Linked DNA regions of Homo sapiens: regions 2, 3, 4 and 5 are each linked to region 1. The links are contacts of gene promoters, found by promoter capture Hi-C in human tissues and cell types (Jung and others, 2019). All regions are on one chromosome and are shown on one strand. Each heading gives the region's core, a stretch centred on a gene start or on the middle of the fragment in contact. The rest is flanking DNA. Distances are from core to core; before and after follow the strand shown. Region 1 holds the start of GALNT18 (polypeptide N-acetylgalactosaminyltransferase 18). Region 2 has its middle 13 kb from the start of SNORD97. Region 3 overlaps ZBED5 (zinc finger BED-type containing 5). Region 4 has its middle 34 kb from the start of LINC02752. Region 5 has its middle 10 kb from the start of LINC02752.

What was found. Contacts are between HindIII fragments. The study calls those that stand out against the background at their distance.
Region 2: a contact is called between a fragment that was not itself captured here and the fragment with the promoter of GALNT18 in region 1, in 1 of the 25 tissues and cell types used here (aorta).
Region 3: a fragment that was not itself captured here is called in contact with the fragment with the promoter of GALNT18 in region 1 in 1 of the 25 tissues and cell types used here (aorta).
Region 4: a fragment that was not itself captured here is called in contact with the fragment with the promoter of GALNT18 in region 1 in 1 of the 25 tissues and cell types used here (IMR-90 fibroblasts).
Region 5: a fragment that was not itself captured here is called in contact with the fragment with the promoter of GALNT18 in region 1 in 2 of the 25 tissues and cell types used here (dorsolateral prefrontal cortex and mesenchymal stem cells).

The regions. Positions count from the first base shown.
Region 1 is chr11:11,620,579-11,623,614 of GRCh38, forward strand. GALNT18 (polypeptide N-acetylgalactosaminyltransferase 18) reads right to left here and starts at 1,427. Exons shown (of 11, transcript NM_198516.3): 1 at 781-1,427. The coding sequence starts at 1,015. RefSeq lists enhancers at 1-277, 1-169, 910-959, 1,170-1,249, 1,367-1,867 and silencers at 450-519, 540-619, 1,370-1,729. The HindIII fragment of the contact is 13,654 bases long and covers 1-3,036 here.
Region 2 is chr11:10,787,559-10,790,594 of GRCh38, forward strand. No RefSeq gene overlaps it. Among named protein-coding and RNA genes, the nearest start is that of SNORD97, 13 kb to the right of the region's middle. The HindIII fragment of the contact is 7,576 bases long and covers 1-3,036 here.
Region 3 is chr11:10,852,469-10,855,504 of GRCh38, forward strand. ZBED5 (zinc finger BED-type containing 5) reads right to left here. Exons shown (of 3, transcript NM_001143667.2): 3 at 238-2,618. The coding sequence starts at 2,477. The coding sequence ends at 396. Among named protein-coding and RNA genes, the nearest start is that of ZBED5, 4.1 kb to the right of the region's middle. The HindIII fragment of the contact is 3,978 bases long and covers 1-3,036 here.
Region 4 is chr11:11,080,224-11,083,259 of GRCh38, forward strand. No RefSeq gene overlaps it. Among named protein-coding and RNA genes, the nearest start is that of LINC02752, 34 kb to the right of the region's middle. The HindIII fragment of the contact is 8,828 bases long and covers 1-3,036 here.
Region 5 is chr11:11,103,686-11,106,721 of GRCh38, forward strand. No RefSeq gene overlaps it. Among named protein-coding and RNA genes, the nearest start is that of LINC02752, 10 kb to the right of the region's middle. The HindIII fragment of the contact is 4,068 bases long and covers 1-3,036 here.

The DNA.
Region 1 (3,036 bases), core at 177-2,676:
CTTCACCCGGTCCCGGGCGGCTCCGCGGGGAAGGCGCAGCCCAGGGCGTGTTCTTCCAGTCTTGGGCGGAGTCATCACCACAGTGGACAGAGACTCCAGCGCTACTTCCCGGCGTTGACACCTGCTCCTGGAGAGGGTCCTGGACCCGCGGGCTGTGGTGGGGGTAGGGACTGCTATAGGTTCAAGCGGCTTTTCAACCACAGAGGGCTCCTTGCATTCCCTATCGCCTACCAACGGGATCACAGCAAGACTGGGGCTGGGGCTGATACAACGCAATTTTCCTAGCCTCGCTTGTCCGGCAGCCTGCGGGTCTTAACTGCCAATAGTCAGGGCCGCCGCGCGGGCATCTCGCCTGACGCCTACAGTGGCCAAAAAAGCTCGTTTGCCCGCGCGTTCCCTCTTGTACACACACAGACATTCACATGCACACACACTCTGAGCCGGACTTGTGTGCGATCCCGAGAGCCCGCGAGCAACCAGCCCAGAGTCACACGCACATTTGGACACGTGCGCAGCGCGCCCCCATACCGCCAGCTAGCTGCACACATCCGCTCGTGCAGCCCTGCGCACACACGTGTGCCCCGGGGAAGAGCGCACGGCCGCAGACAGAAGGTCCCGAACGCAGGCAGGAGCTCACACGCAGGCCCCACGACTACCACGCATCTGCGGCCCCAGAGCCCCGCCGTGGCTGAGTTGATGCGCACCAGCCCCAGCGCACCCCGCGCCGCGCGGGGCACTCCCGGGCCTCATGGGCGACCCAAGTTTCCGGGGCGCCCGTACCTTGAATGTGCTGCTTGATGACATTCTCCAGGTGGTCCAGCCGCTCAATAATCTTCAGAGTGTCCCCTTTGTCTTCCTCCAGCTTCTTGTCGGGCGCCGGCTCCTGCCCCCGCACATACACGCTGGCGATGTAGTTGGTGACCCAGCCCACGTAGAGCAGGCAGATGATGTTAGTCATGCCGCTCAGGATCACGCAAGTGGACACCAAAGTTTTGGTCTTCCTGGTGCACACCATTCTGGGCTCCTTCCTCCATATAGAGCTCCCGGGGGCCCTTCCTTGTCGTGCGCCCCGAACTCCCCCGCGCTCGCACCCCGTAGCACGTCCGGAGCCGCTGGGCACCTCAGCACCTGAGTCCCGAGGTTCTCCAAAGCCCGGTCCGCTGCCGGTGTAGCCGCCGTGCCCAAGTTTGCAGCTCCTGCCGCTGGCCACCCGGAGAGACCTTGACAAAGGAAACCAGGTGGATTTTTTTCCAAATTAAAAATCCCTGAACCCTTCCTAGAGGGGTCACGGGTAGCCGGCAGCCGCGCGTCCAGATGTGTACGTCTGGGAAACTTTGCCACTGCCTGTGTCGGCGGCCACGCCGCTTCCCATCGCCAGCGCCGGCTGCCTTGGCGGTCCGACCGGCCCGCGCTGCTAGGAGAACAGCGGCAGCGGCAGCGGCGGCGGGGAGAGCCGCGAAGCAGAGCGGCCCGGCCCCCTCCGAGCGACAAGCGCTGCCACCAATCGCGCTCCGGCTCGGGAGAGGGGCCGGTGCTGAGCGGCAGCGGACCAACGGGGAGGGAGCGGGGGGCGGAGTCCAGCTCCCAGGCCCCACCTGCTGGCCGCCCCTGGCTCCCGCCCCCAGGGACGCGCCCGGGCCTCCACCCGCGCCTGCACAGGCTGCCCCAGACCTGAAGCTCCCGGAGAGGGCGCGCTGCCAGTCCCAGCCCTTAGGTCGGCAGCTTCCTCCGTTAGGGGAATTCCATCTCTTGCTCTTGGGCAGGAATCTCCTGGTTTTGTGGAGGGGGTGGGGGGTTCGCACGGGTCAGCTTCTTTCATCCGCCCGGGGCTTCTCGCATTGGTGCCACCAGTCGACTCCTGGAATCTTTTCTTGGTTGCCAGGACGCTGAGAAGCCAAGGAAGTGCCAGCCCCAGCGGCATCCACTCCTTCCTTGGCCTCACTTGGGCCTCCACCCTGCCCTCTGCCCTTCAGCCACCGGCCTCCTGAGTGTGTCCAGACCTGGCCCTAAACCTGGCTGAAAGGAGCCAACCCTCCGGCAACCTCCCAGAAGCAACATTGGTGACCTATTAGATGACTCTCTCGACCACTTCTTCCCCCCCCCCACCCCCCACCCCCCACCCCCACCGCCTGCCCCAATTTTTGCCCCTATCTAGGTTTTTCTTTAAGTCTGTACAGCTCCCAGGACATGGATGTGTCCTTTAAGCCCAGTTTTCATTTATGTGGAACCAGGGTCATCCAGTGCATAAAGAAACCCTGCAAGGAAGTGCCGCTGAGGGGAACTGAGGTCTGTGAACTGTAAAGCCCTTCTACATGTTGTTTATGATTGCTATCATAGAGGGCGGTGGGAGAGACCTGTGACTGAGCACAGGAGGAGGCCAGACGCAGACAGTGATACTGCTGTGTTTGTTCTTACTGCCAATGTTTACTCATATTATCCTCTTCTGCTGAACACCCCGTTCTCAGCACCTGAACGGAATTCCTTTAAACAAAGACTTTTTACAACATAGATTTCCTGCCTCTTCTCCATCTCTGAGTTGCTTTATTTTTTTGGCCTAAGCCAGGGAGGCAGCCTGCTGCATGCCCACTTTGTTGTGTGCCAGCCTTCCAACCAGCCACAGAAATACTCAGGGCAGCTCCATCCTGGGATATCTTCTGGATTCAAATGACTGGCCCCACAAGAGAGGGAGAGCACAAAACCAAAGAAAGGGCACTTTATGGCCCCATCAGCCAAGGGCCCTTCTACCAATGCTTTGTTTACAAAACCTCCCCAAAGATGCTATGAAAACAGATACCAACTAGGGACCCGGGAAGATTTCCCTTGATCCATAGCTGGAAGAGAGAACAGTGGGTGTGGGTTGGCGTGGGCTGGGGTATAGAAGGGGGAGAAGAATCGTGTGTATGGTATGTAGGAGATACATACATGAGAGGAGAGAATGTACACAATTTCTGAAAAAATCAAGGTAGAGAAATCTGCCTCCAGGAGGGAGTAAAACTTGTCTCTCCCTTTTTTCTCTTCCAGAGGTATAATCCAGCT
Region 2 (3,036 bases), core at 234-2,733, 830 kb before region 1:
CGCTCTGTCAGCCAGGCTGGGGTGCAATAGTCAGATCATTGCTTACTGCAGCTTCGACCTCCTGGGCTCAAGCAATCCTCCTGCCTCCCCTCCCTACCAGCTAGGACTACAGGAATACAGCATTGTGCCTGGCTAATTTTTAAAATTTTTGGAGAGACAGGGTCTCACCGTGTTGCCCAGGCTGGTCTCAAACCCCTGGCTTCAAGTGATCTCCTGCCTCAGCCTCCCAAAGCAGTGAGATTTCAGGCTTGAGCCACTGTGCCCAGGCTAATGTACCACTTTTTAAAGCAATCTTTAAAATGCTTGTTTATAACTTTTGCAAACTCTTGAGATTTTACAACCGTGTCCCCAGGAATAACAATTAAGTCTGTATTCAATTTCTTTGACACCAAGCCTCTCGAAGGCCTCCATAAACATCAAAAACTAGCTATTGATTGGGATCACTTCAGGTTAATGTGTCATCCCCAAACTGTAGATTATTGTCCAAACAAATGTAATTGACAGGGCCTCATGTAATTGGAAATTGTCAGGCAATTATCGTGTGTCAATTAAAAGTAATAAAAGTAAAAAACATAAACAAAACTAACAACACATGTATAAGATATGTATTCTAAAAATTACACAATGATGAAAACAATATCAAAGAAGACTCAGGCTGGGCACAGTGGCTCACACCTGTAATCCCAGCATTTTGGGAGGTCGAGGTGGGAGGATCGCTTGAGCTCAGGAGTTCAAGACCAGCCTGGGTAACATGGCGAAATCCCATCTCTACAAAGAATACAAAAAGTTAGCCAGATGTGGTGGCGTGTGCCTGTAGTCCCAGCTACTTGGGGGCTGAGGCAGGAGGATCACTTGAGCCTGGGAAGCAGAGGTTGCGGTGAGCTGAGATGGCACCACTGCACTACAGCCTGGGTGACAAAGTGAGACCCTGTCTCAAAAAAAAAAAAAAAAAAGAAAGTCTTAAATTAAGAGATATATCATGTTCATGGACTGGAAGACTCAACATAGTGAAGATGTTTCTCTACAAAAAAAAAAAAGAAGAAGAAAAAATTGTTAGAGCGAAAATGTCAGGCTTTTTTTCAAGAGGATAAAAACTGCAGGTATTGGCTAGGCACAGTGAAACACGCCTCTAATCCCAGCACTTTGGGAATCTGAGGGAGGTGGATCACTTGAGCCCAGGAGTTCCAGACCACCCTAGGCAACATGGTGAAACCCTGTCTCTACAAAAAATTAGCCGGGCATGGTGGCCCACCTGTAGTCCCAGCAACTTGAGAGGCTGAGGTAGGAGAATCATTTGACCCCAAGAGGTTGAGGCTTCAGTAAGCTGAGATTGTGCCACTGCTCTCCAGCCTGAGCGACAGAATGAGACCCTGTCTTCAAACAAAACAAAAGCAAAACAAAACAAAACCTGCAGGTATTTATAGTTTGCCACATTTTGTTTTATTTTCCCCATCTTTGGAAATCAGCTCCAATTTTGACTGCCGTGTAATAGAAAACATGCGGACTTTAGAGTTATTCGAACTCTAAATCCTAGCTCTTCCTCTGACAAATGATGTGACTTTGAACAATGGCTCCATCCCCCTCAGCTTCAATTTCCTACTGTTTAAATTGGGATAACAATGTCTACATCCCAGGACTATTCTGAGAATAATATAGTCAGAGTTCAAAAAGGTTAGTCTTTTTTTCCCACTGATTTTTTAAAGAGCTTTTTGTGGTTAACCCTTGATTGTGCACATGCAAATATTTTAATTTATCCTTTATAACATTTTGGGACAGATTAATAGGCAAATCTGTCAACATTTCCCTTCATCGTTTCTGGATATGTATATTTTTTTCACAAAGAGATAGATGTTCCATGAAGTTAAAGCTTAGGCATCAGGGTCCCTCACTTGCCTGGGCCTCTTCCAAGGCTGCACCTAATTTTTCATTTGTGATTTTGTTTTCTTTTTCCTAAAGAGACCTCCACCACCCCTGCCAAATTATGTAAACTTCAGGCCCTACAGAATCTGGAACTTTCCCGAGTAACGTGCTTAGAAAAGTCACGTCACCCTAGGCCGGGCACGGTGACTCACGCCTGTAATCCCAGCACTTTGGGAGGCTGAGGCGGGCAGATCACCTGAGGTCAGGAGTTCAAGACCAGCCTGACCAACATGGCAAAACCCTGTCTCTACTAAAAAATACAAAAATTGGCCGGGCGTTGTGGCAGGCGCCTGTAATCCCAGCTACTCGGGAGGCTGAGGCAGGGAGAATTGCTTGAACCCGGGAGGTGGAGGTTGCAGTGAGCCGAGATCATGCCATTGCACTCCAGCCTAGAAGAAAGAGGGAGACTCTAAAAAAAAAAAAAAAAAAAAAAAAAAAAAAAAGAAGCAAAGCAAAGAAAAGAAAAGTCACCTCACCCCAAATTATGAAAAATTTTAATAGGCTTAGCTTTATATCTTTTCTTTTGGCTTATTTTCTAATTTTTTAGTACTAAAGTAGATTACTAATTTTCTTCAAAGAATTTTTCTCAGAACAAAATAGAGCTCCACTGCTCATTCATTCACTCATTTTATTTACTGGTTCGTCCAAGCTCTTCCCTCACCTTTCTGTACCTAGCTGAGTTGTGAAGCAGCTGGTGGGTTCAGGGGAGGAGAGAGGAAGGGACAGAGCTAGAGGGCACGGTGGCCCTGGATGGAAGTGATGGTACTGGGGTTGGGGGCAATGTATTAGTTTCTAGGACTACCGTAATGAAGTAGCACAAACAGGGTGTCTTGAACAACAAAAACATATTCTCTCATTGTTCTGGAGACTAGAAGTCCAAAATCAAGGTGTCAGCAGGGCATGGGAAGGCTCTAGAGATAATCTGTCCATGTCTCTCTCCTAGCTGCTAGCATTGCTGGCAAACCTTCGCAGTCCTTGGCTTGTAGAGACGTCACTCCAATCTCTGCCCCTGTCATCAAATGGCACTCACCCTGCATGTCTGTGTGCCACTTCTCTTATTATAAGGACACCATTATATCAGATTAGGGCCTCCTCTAATGACTTGCTTACATCTGC
Region 3 (3,036 bases), core at 138-2,637, 770 kb before region 1:
GACAGAATCGCTTTTTGAGACCTGAAACGATAAAACAGTGTGATATGTTTAGGGAATGGCAAGAAGTTCCATGGGATTGGAGAGCTGCAGAGTAGACACGGAAAGATTGGTAGGGATTAGATCCTGAAGAGATATGTTAAGGGACTGGGACTTTATCTTGGGGATCATTATTTCCCAGTTATGATCATGGAACTCTTTAAAATTACAATGTAAAGAAATACCAATAATAACACAATATGTTTAAAACGTTTGATTCTTTAGCCTTCTTAAAATCTAAATAGTATAAAAAAATGGAATCATTTTATTTAAATCCCCCAAATACCAGAGATGAAGTAAATCATCTTTTATTTTCATCTTACATTTGGTTATCATGAGACATGCAAACTCCTCCAATTTTAATGAGAACAGTGTTTTTGTGTCTTTTTATCACATATCCGCTTAATATTAGGTGTAATATTGCTAAGTCGGATTCGCATATGAGGTGCAGCATCAAGTCTTTTCCTATATTTTGTTTTTGTTGCAGCGTAATATGAAAACCCCGTTTCACACAGGTGCATTGTAGCAAAAGGAAGAAGTACACGCACTGCACGCCTTGCAATGCTTGGGTATTCCTGAATTAGGCTACTCCAAAAATCATTTAGTGAAAGTTCACTAAAATTTTGCTTCACTTGAGAATCAGATGTTAAATCAATCAGGCTCTCATAGTCCCGTGCTACTAATGAAGCTGGTTTAACAGTAACTGTAAATGGATTTCTAACCCAAGCATTATTGTCATTTGTTACAGGAAAGTATTTTAACAGAGTAGCGCGCAAACCCCTTAGGTGCTGCACAATGGCACTGCAAATATCTTTATCAACTGTAGAATTAATTTCAGTCAAAAAATCACTGAGTGTAGGAAAACAATCAAAGTTTTCTTCTTCTACAGATGAGGCCCAAAATTCCAATTTTCTTAACAATGACGACATTTTATCAAATACTGTAAAAACGGTCACATTTTTTCCTTGCATTGACAAATTAACTTCATTTAATTTAGTAAAAATATCTGCAAGATATGCAAGTCTTAGCAGCCAAGATGAATTTGTTAAACAATCAGATAGTCGAAAAGCAGAATCCATGAAAACCAAAAGTTCACGACGAAGTTCAAAAAGTCTTACAAGAACTTTACCTCGAGAAAGCCACCTCACCTCTGTATTTAGAAGAAGTGCTGTGTGCTGAGCACCCATTTCCTCACATAAAATTTTTAATAGTCTGGATTGATGTGGTCGAGCTTTAATATAATTGATGATTTGTACTGCCTGGTCTAGCACATTTTTTAGAGATGTAGGCATTATTTTAACTGCCAGTGCATGTCTGTATAATAGGCAGTGACTACTGGTGCTTTCGGGAGCCACATATTTTATTAAGGTGACAGCTTCGGCAATTTTCCCATCCACTGCCCTAGAAGCATCACTACAAACATCAACACATTTTTCCCATTCAATTTCATGTTTCTGCATAAAACTGTTGATACAGTTGAATATTTCTTCACCGGTAGCATTACTTTGCAAAGATTCACACAGGAGTAGGTCTTCCTCAATAGACTTATTAAACCTATAACGAACAAACACAAGCAGCACAGCAAGTCCTGAAACATCAGCTGATTCATCTAGTTGCAGTGAAAACCCATCGCAAATTTTCAGTCTACAAACAAGCTCTTCTTCAATGTCAGCAGCTAGATCCTTAATTCGACGTGCAACAGTACTGTTTGATAGCTGTACTGCATCTATTTTTTTACTATATTGTTCATCAAACATCCGCATCACTACATCTTTTGCACAAGGTTTGATAAGCAATTCTCCAATAGTATGAGCCTCTCCACTCAGCGCTATATGGTAACTTACATTGTATGATGCTTCTGTAGCACTTTCATTATCTGTATTCACAATTTTAGGTGTTGGGGGTTTATTATTTTCAGGTGAATCGAGATGTTGCTTGAAAAAGCTTATGTCTTTGTCTTTATATGCAGCATGTTTAGTTTCCAAATGTCTTCGAAGCTTACTAGGGGCTAAAGAGCTATTTGATAAAATTTTCTTACATAATACACACTGAGCATGAGGTGCATCTCTATTTCCGAAGTAAGTAAATCCAAAAGACAAATAACTTTCATCATATTTTCTTCTTTTTGGTTTTTTACTAAATGTTATTTTGTTGGAATTGGATATAAATTTGACCCTGGAAAGCTCACCTTCTGATTTTTTAGAAACTGAAGGTTGCAACTGCTTATCTTCACTTTGTAATATTCCAACCTTCTGATCATTTGATTCAGACACAATCTGATAACAGAAAGATTCCACTTCTTGTTTAAGACTTCCTTGTTTCAGCAACAGATCCATGGGCAATGAGTTTGTGGTACAAAACATGGTTAATTTAGAATAGACATTGAGTATCGCAAATGTGTTGAAATTATAAGACAGGATACAAAGAAGAGGAGCAATCATCAAAGAGATGATATACAGCAACACATCAGTTAATTTGTAAATGCTGCCTATTCATCAATGCGCAGATGGAACATCATACGTTCATGTATCAGGTGATCTCTCATGCGACTTCCTGGTGCTCTCAGGTATGGTACACCTTTTCTTAAAGGTAGATTATCACATAAAAATAAAAGCTATAGAAATGAGTTTAGCAGTCTTAATCTCATATTTAAATAAACATATTAAAATCAACCATAAAGAAAAACCAATATTAGCATCAATCATTTTCTCAAAACATTTATTAACTTAGAGAATATTAATATTCTATAAAACATAATTTGGGAATCACTGAGCCAATAAATTATTAAGAGTTGTTATACATATTTTTAAGAAAGGGACCCTGAAGAATATGTCCCATGGCAGGGGTTGGCAGGCTTTTTTTGGTCAAGGGCCATATAGTCTCTGTTGCAACTACTCAACTCTGTAGTTGTAACATGACAGCAGCCATAGACAATACATGAAAGAATGGACACAGGTGTGTTCCAATAAAACTTTACGTACAAAACCAGACAGCATGGGC
Region 4 (3,036 bases), core at 216-2,715, 540 kb before region 1:
ATTCCACAAAAGCTAGTTTCTCTTGTGTGTGTCCTTTTTTGGGGAAAGGATTTGGTTGAGTATGGTCTAATTCATGCTAAGCTGTTAATAGCTGACACCTTGGAGCTGGACATCCCTTTACCCTAAGGAAGAGAGAAGCAATGGTGAGATTTTTAGGTACAAAAAAGAGTGTCTCTAAAATTTCAGCACAGGGAAAGGGAGAGCCCAGAGAGGTTGTCTAATCTAATGGTTGTTGAACTTCCCAGAATGTTGCTGCTTTAGCACACTTGTTGATGCACCAGCACACTTGGCCATAAGGACACTTTTTTATCTTCTCCTTTTTAGCACATGGGCGGACACATCCTCTTTTTCTTCGAACAAAGCCGTAAATGACCTGAAGTAGTATTTCTGAAAGCATGCTCCTCTGTTTACCTGAGGTGCTTGTTAAAAGTTCAGATCGTCAAGCTTCATTCTTAACCCCCTGAACCTGTCTCTTTCTGCTGGTGGGATTTGGGGATCTGCTCTATAAACAGTCTCCCCAGTGATCCATTTATACCTGAGTGACTCAGAACCACTGGGCTGGAGCCAGAAAGGGGAGAGTTTTACTGAGGTTCCAGAGTAAATCAAGAAAATCAGTAAATGTAAAATGGGTAAAATTACAAAGTTCGGGCTCTGGATGCAGCAAGATCCTGAACAGAGACACCTAAATGTCCAGCTGAGGTCTGGCTGCCTTGGAAGACCTTCCAGGACTGATGGAACCTTACATTCTCTCAAATTCTTCAGCTTTCTTTCATCTCAGGCCTTGATTTCAGGCATTCCTGTGACTCTGGTTGGACCTGACCCTTGGGTCCTGTCCAGGTTGGATACCCTTGCTGGAAGCAGGAACTTCCCTGCCTGGCCATCAGAGAAACAGCCTAACTCGTTGTCTCAAAAGGCTGCTCCAGGACCTCCACCCTTATTCCTCTTTCCATCTTGTAAGCACTCTCCACCTCTTTCCTTTCCCTTCATTTTCCATCTAGGTCACACATATGTCAGCGTGTGTACGCACACATACACACACGCACATGCACACATGCTGACCCCATCTTACGTGGAATCAAAGCCTGAATAATTCAATGAAACAAATGCCTGGCACACAGTAGGTGCCTAGTAAATGCTAATTCTCTTTCCCTGACTCCTTTCTATTGTCCTCTTGCTCCATTTAAATGCAAAACTGTCTGGAGAAAATGGGAGGGAGTGAGAGAAGGTATACATTATGACTAAATTCCAAAATCTGATCAGTGTGTGGGGCTGGCTGCTGGGTTTTCATGCCTGCATACCAATGAAGCTGTGTCTGGAGCAGAATAGTTTGTGCCCATAAACCGTGACCTTCATTATCCATGGAGACGGGCAGCAGCGGCAGTCTCTGTAGAAATCTTTCCTATCCTGATTGTGGGGATGGCAGAAGCAACAAGACTATGCCATTTGTTTCAGCAGAGCTAACAAATTCTTTCTATAGCGCTGTGCAAAGTACTCTCTTCCCCTGTTCTTTCTGGCTGGGATGGGCTTTTTTTTTCCAATTAAAAATTAAAATAGAGGCTGAATTATATTCGTTTCTTGGGTCTGCAATTCATGCTCCATTTCTCATAAGCAGTCTGCATTATCGTGAAGCTCATCTACTTATACTGGTTCTTGGAAAGAGCCACTTAAATCTCTGCTTGGTTAAAAATAGTTCCCTCGTGCCAGAGTGCCAGAGAATCAAGTAACAGAGTGAGATGAGGCCATGCAGCCCCATCCCCTTCCTGGGAGAGACTGCCCCCCAATGCCACCAACTTGCCTCTTCCTGGGCAGCTTCAGGTCAGGAGCCACAGGTCGACTTGCCTCTTCCTGGGCAGCTTCAGAGTCAGGAGCCACAGGGAGGCAGCTTTCACTCTTAGAAAGTGCTTCTTCCTGAGTAGCCACAGTTTGCATTCCTGCTTCTTAGCTCTGCCCTTTGGGCCACACAAATCAAATCTTTTACAAGACAGTTCTTAGGATACATGAAGACGGTTCTCTTGCCCTCTTGTATGGGTTGAATTGCGTTATCCAAAAAGGTATGTCGAAGTCCTAACCCCCAGTACCTCAGAATATGACTTCACTTGGAAATAGGGTCTCTGCAGATACACTTAGTTAAAATGAAGCCACACTGGCATAGGGTGGGCCTTTAATCAAGTATCACTGGTATCCTTATCAGAAGATACACAACGGGACAACACCGTGTGAAGATGGAGGCAGAGACTGGAGTGATGCTGCCAGAAGCTATGGAATGCTGGGGGCTACCAGAAGCAGGAAAGGACAAGGAGGGATCATGGCCCTGTGAACATCCTGATTTTGGATTTCTGACCTCCAGAGGGGGGAGAGCATACATTTCAGTTGTTTTAAGACATCTAGTCTGAGCAAACTAATACATTCCCTGGGGCTTCCCTGGGCTGAACACCTCCAGTTTTTTCAACTCTTTCTCATATAATATGGCCTCTATCCTTTTCTTTCCTTGATTTCCCTTCTTTGAGCATATTTCAAGTACCAAGCAAATCACTCTAGAAGGGGTCTGAGCTTCATGCCTTGTACTGGGCTATCACTTCTCTCATTTCTGGATTCCTTACCTCAGAGCACAGCCACTTTCTTGACAACTTCTTCATACCTCAAATTCCTTCTGAGTTTATGGTCAGCTAAGACCCATGATTCTTTTCCAAGAGTACTGCTGCTAAATCACATCTCTCAATTGGTATGACAGCTCTGTTATAATCTCTCATCATATTGATTATTGCTCTGGCCTCTTCAGATATTTTAAATCTTGAGTGGATTCACCAATGCATTAAAAATTTTTCCCCGCTGCATTGTTATATTTTTTATTTTTTTTCAGAAATCCCTTTATGTTCTCATTGAATTATTAATCATGGTAGGCTGAAGGCCAAGAACTCTAGCATATCATCAGAGATTTCTCTGTAGACTTGCTGTGAATCCATACATTTGTTCACTCCATAACTATTTACTGGCTGCCCGGTACCTGCCAGACATTATTGTAGGCACTGAGGATTG
Region 5 (3,036 bases), core at 285-2,784, 520 kb before region 1:
AGAAGGAGTTTGGTTATGTTAGAGGAAGATAAATAGATAACCAAGGTAACATAGCATTGTAGGGATTCACCACAGTATTTTATAAGCAGGCCAATTTCATTTAGATAGGTAGCTTCTAATTTAGTCTGTTTTCCAGGTGGAACACTGAGCTCAGGATGGAGCCCATTAACAAATACTGCCAACACAGCATTTGCAGTTTCCAGGGTCCAATGCTTATATATGTGAAAAGCAGACAAATCTCCATGAAAGGCAGCTTTTTAGCTATTCTGTGTTTCCAGCATTTCTGAATAACGCATCTTGAAATATGTCAAAGAAGTATATTTTGGGGTAAAGTATTTTAGCTTCCTTCAATAGTCTAAGTGTCCATCAATACCCCTTCTCTGTGATGTTTTCCTGGATCGTCCCAGGTACTTCCAATACCTTAGAAGATCTAAGATACTCCTCCACTCCTGGCAGATTTGTGCCTCAGAGTCCCTGAAACAGTGGAGCAGTTGTAGCTCATTGCTGTAAATGGAATGTGCATCCCCTTCAAATTCACATTGAAGCCCTAAGCCACCCTGTGACTGTATTGGAGACAGCACCTTGAAGGAGGTGATTAAAGTTAAATGAGGTTGTAAGGTGGGGCCTTGATGTAACAGAACTGATGTCTTTATGGAAGAGGAAGAGACACCAGAGATCTATCTGTTTTTGCCACATGAGGACACAGCAAGAAGATGGTCATCAGCGACCTAGGTAGAGAGCTCTCATCAGAAACTAAATCCCACTGAAACTTTGATCTTGGACAGACTTTCCAGCCTCCAGAACTGTGAGGAAATAAATTTCTGTTGTTTGAGCCACTCAGTCTATGATATTTTATTATGGCAGCCGAGGTGAGTAGATACTCTTGCTCACTGTGGAAGCTAACATGCATGGCCCTGTGGTCTGCACTGGGAGTATACAAAGAGGAAAGGCACGGCCCCTGACTGAAGAGACCTCATTGCCTTTACCAAGAGCAGCAGGTAGAAACAGACATACCAGCAGAGATTTACTTTTTATAAGTTACTTTTTATAAGTCTCTGAACCTCAGTTTCCCCACTGTAAAAGAGGGATAATAATAACTTTTCTTCAGAGGGTTATTATGAGGATTAAATGAGGTTAAGCAGGTTAGGTACTTAGCATAGACACATGGAAAGCACTGAGAGTTATTTCAGATATTACTGGTAATAGTATATGGAAAGGGTACCAAGGCATATTGCTAGAAGGATGATAAAAAAAAAATCTGAGGAGATTAAAGTAGAATTGAGTTTTACAGGAAAAGTAGCAATTAACCAGAAGACATTCCTGGTAGAAGAAACAGAATTTGCAATTATTGGGGATAGGAAATAACATGCCACACTTGAGGGACTTCCAATAAATTGGTAGGACCTGATAAGCTCCAAATGAGTGCAAGGGCTGCAGGAGGAGGGCTTAGGGAGGAACAGTGGGTGAAGGGCAAGAAAAGCAGTCAGGAACCAGGGAGACAGAGTTTGAACCTTATTCTGGAGATTTGTAGGGAGCCATTGAAGGATATTGAACGTGGAGCTTCAAGTCATTGGATTTAGATGGGAGGAGGGTCACCTCTTTCATTGAGGAGAGAAGGAAGAAGAAGAGATAAATGCAGATGCAGGTAAGTTTGAAGATGACAAGAAATGAATGTGGTCTGGATGGCTTGGAATTCTCTGTGGGATAAGAGGAGAGGTCCTCTGATGAGACTGAGGTAGGAAGCAGGACTTGACTCCAGAGGTGGGGCTCATACACTGGGCCAGATTGAAGACTAGCTAAAACAGGGCCAGGATGGAAGCAGCTTTCAATCAGACATGCCAACCAGTATGCCACATCTATTTACTGTTGCCATGGCAACACCGGGGAGTTACCACCCCTTTCCATGGCAATGTCCCAGTTACCCAAAAGTTAATACTCTTTCCCTAAAAATTTTTGCATAAACTGCCTCTGAATCTGTATGCAATTAAAAGTGGGTATAAATGTGACTGCAGAACTGTACTGAGCTGCTACTCTCTGTCTATGGGGTAGCTCTGCTCTGCAGGAGCACAGAGCTGTAACACCATTGGAGCTGTAACACTGTCTGTTCAATAGAGCTATTTTCTTCTGCCTCTAGCTTGCCCTTGAATTATTTCCTGGGAAAAGCCAAGAACACTCAGAGGCTAAGCTCCACTTTGGGGCTTGCCTTCCTTGCATCAAGAAGAGGGCATGAAATGAGGCATGGCAGTATACTGGCTTGAATTGAAACAGCCTTTGCAAAAATTATTATGACAGTGAAAGAGATCTGACCTTACTGACTCCATCTTGCCTTTAACTTCCAAGCTGCCCTTGGTCATTTCTGGGTGTAGGCCGAAGTAACTTTGGGAGGAATTTAGTTTACAGGTTAACTTTGAAACAAAGATGTTAACAGTCTCTCCTTGAAATAAACTCCTTCTTACCTGGAGGGAGGAAGACTGCTTTTGTAAAACTAACAAATTAGCCACAATATTAGAAATTATGGATTAGCAGCCATGCAACCAGAGGCTACAAGATTCTTAATCTTCCCAATTGCTCATCTGGGTAATATTACTTTTGTAAAACCTAAGATTGGTGTTTGAGATATTTTTCGGACCCTGCATTCTGGTGGGTCAGCTGGCACCACCCAGACTGGTAAGCAGGCTTGTCTGTTCTTACAGCTTCCACCCAGGAACCAATTGAGCTCATCCCTGCCAATCAGCATTCCCCACCCTGCCTTCTTAAAAAAATCCATCTTAAAAAAAAATAGCCCCCTGTTTCCTAGCCCCCTGCCTTCTTAAAAAAAAAAACACACACAAAAAACTATCTTAAAAAAATCCTAGCCTCTGAATTTTCAGATAGGCTGATTTGAGTAATAATAAAGTTCCAGTCTCCTGTTTAGCTGGCTCTACATGTATTAAACTCTTTCTCTATGGCAACTGCCCTTTCTTCACTAATCAGCTCTATCTGGGCAGTGGGCAAAAAGAGCCCATTAGTTACAGAATGGGGGAGAAAGCTGCTGGG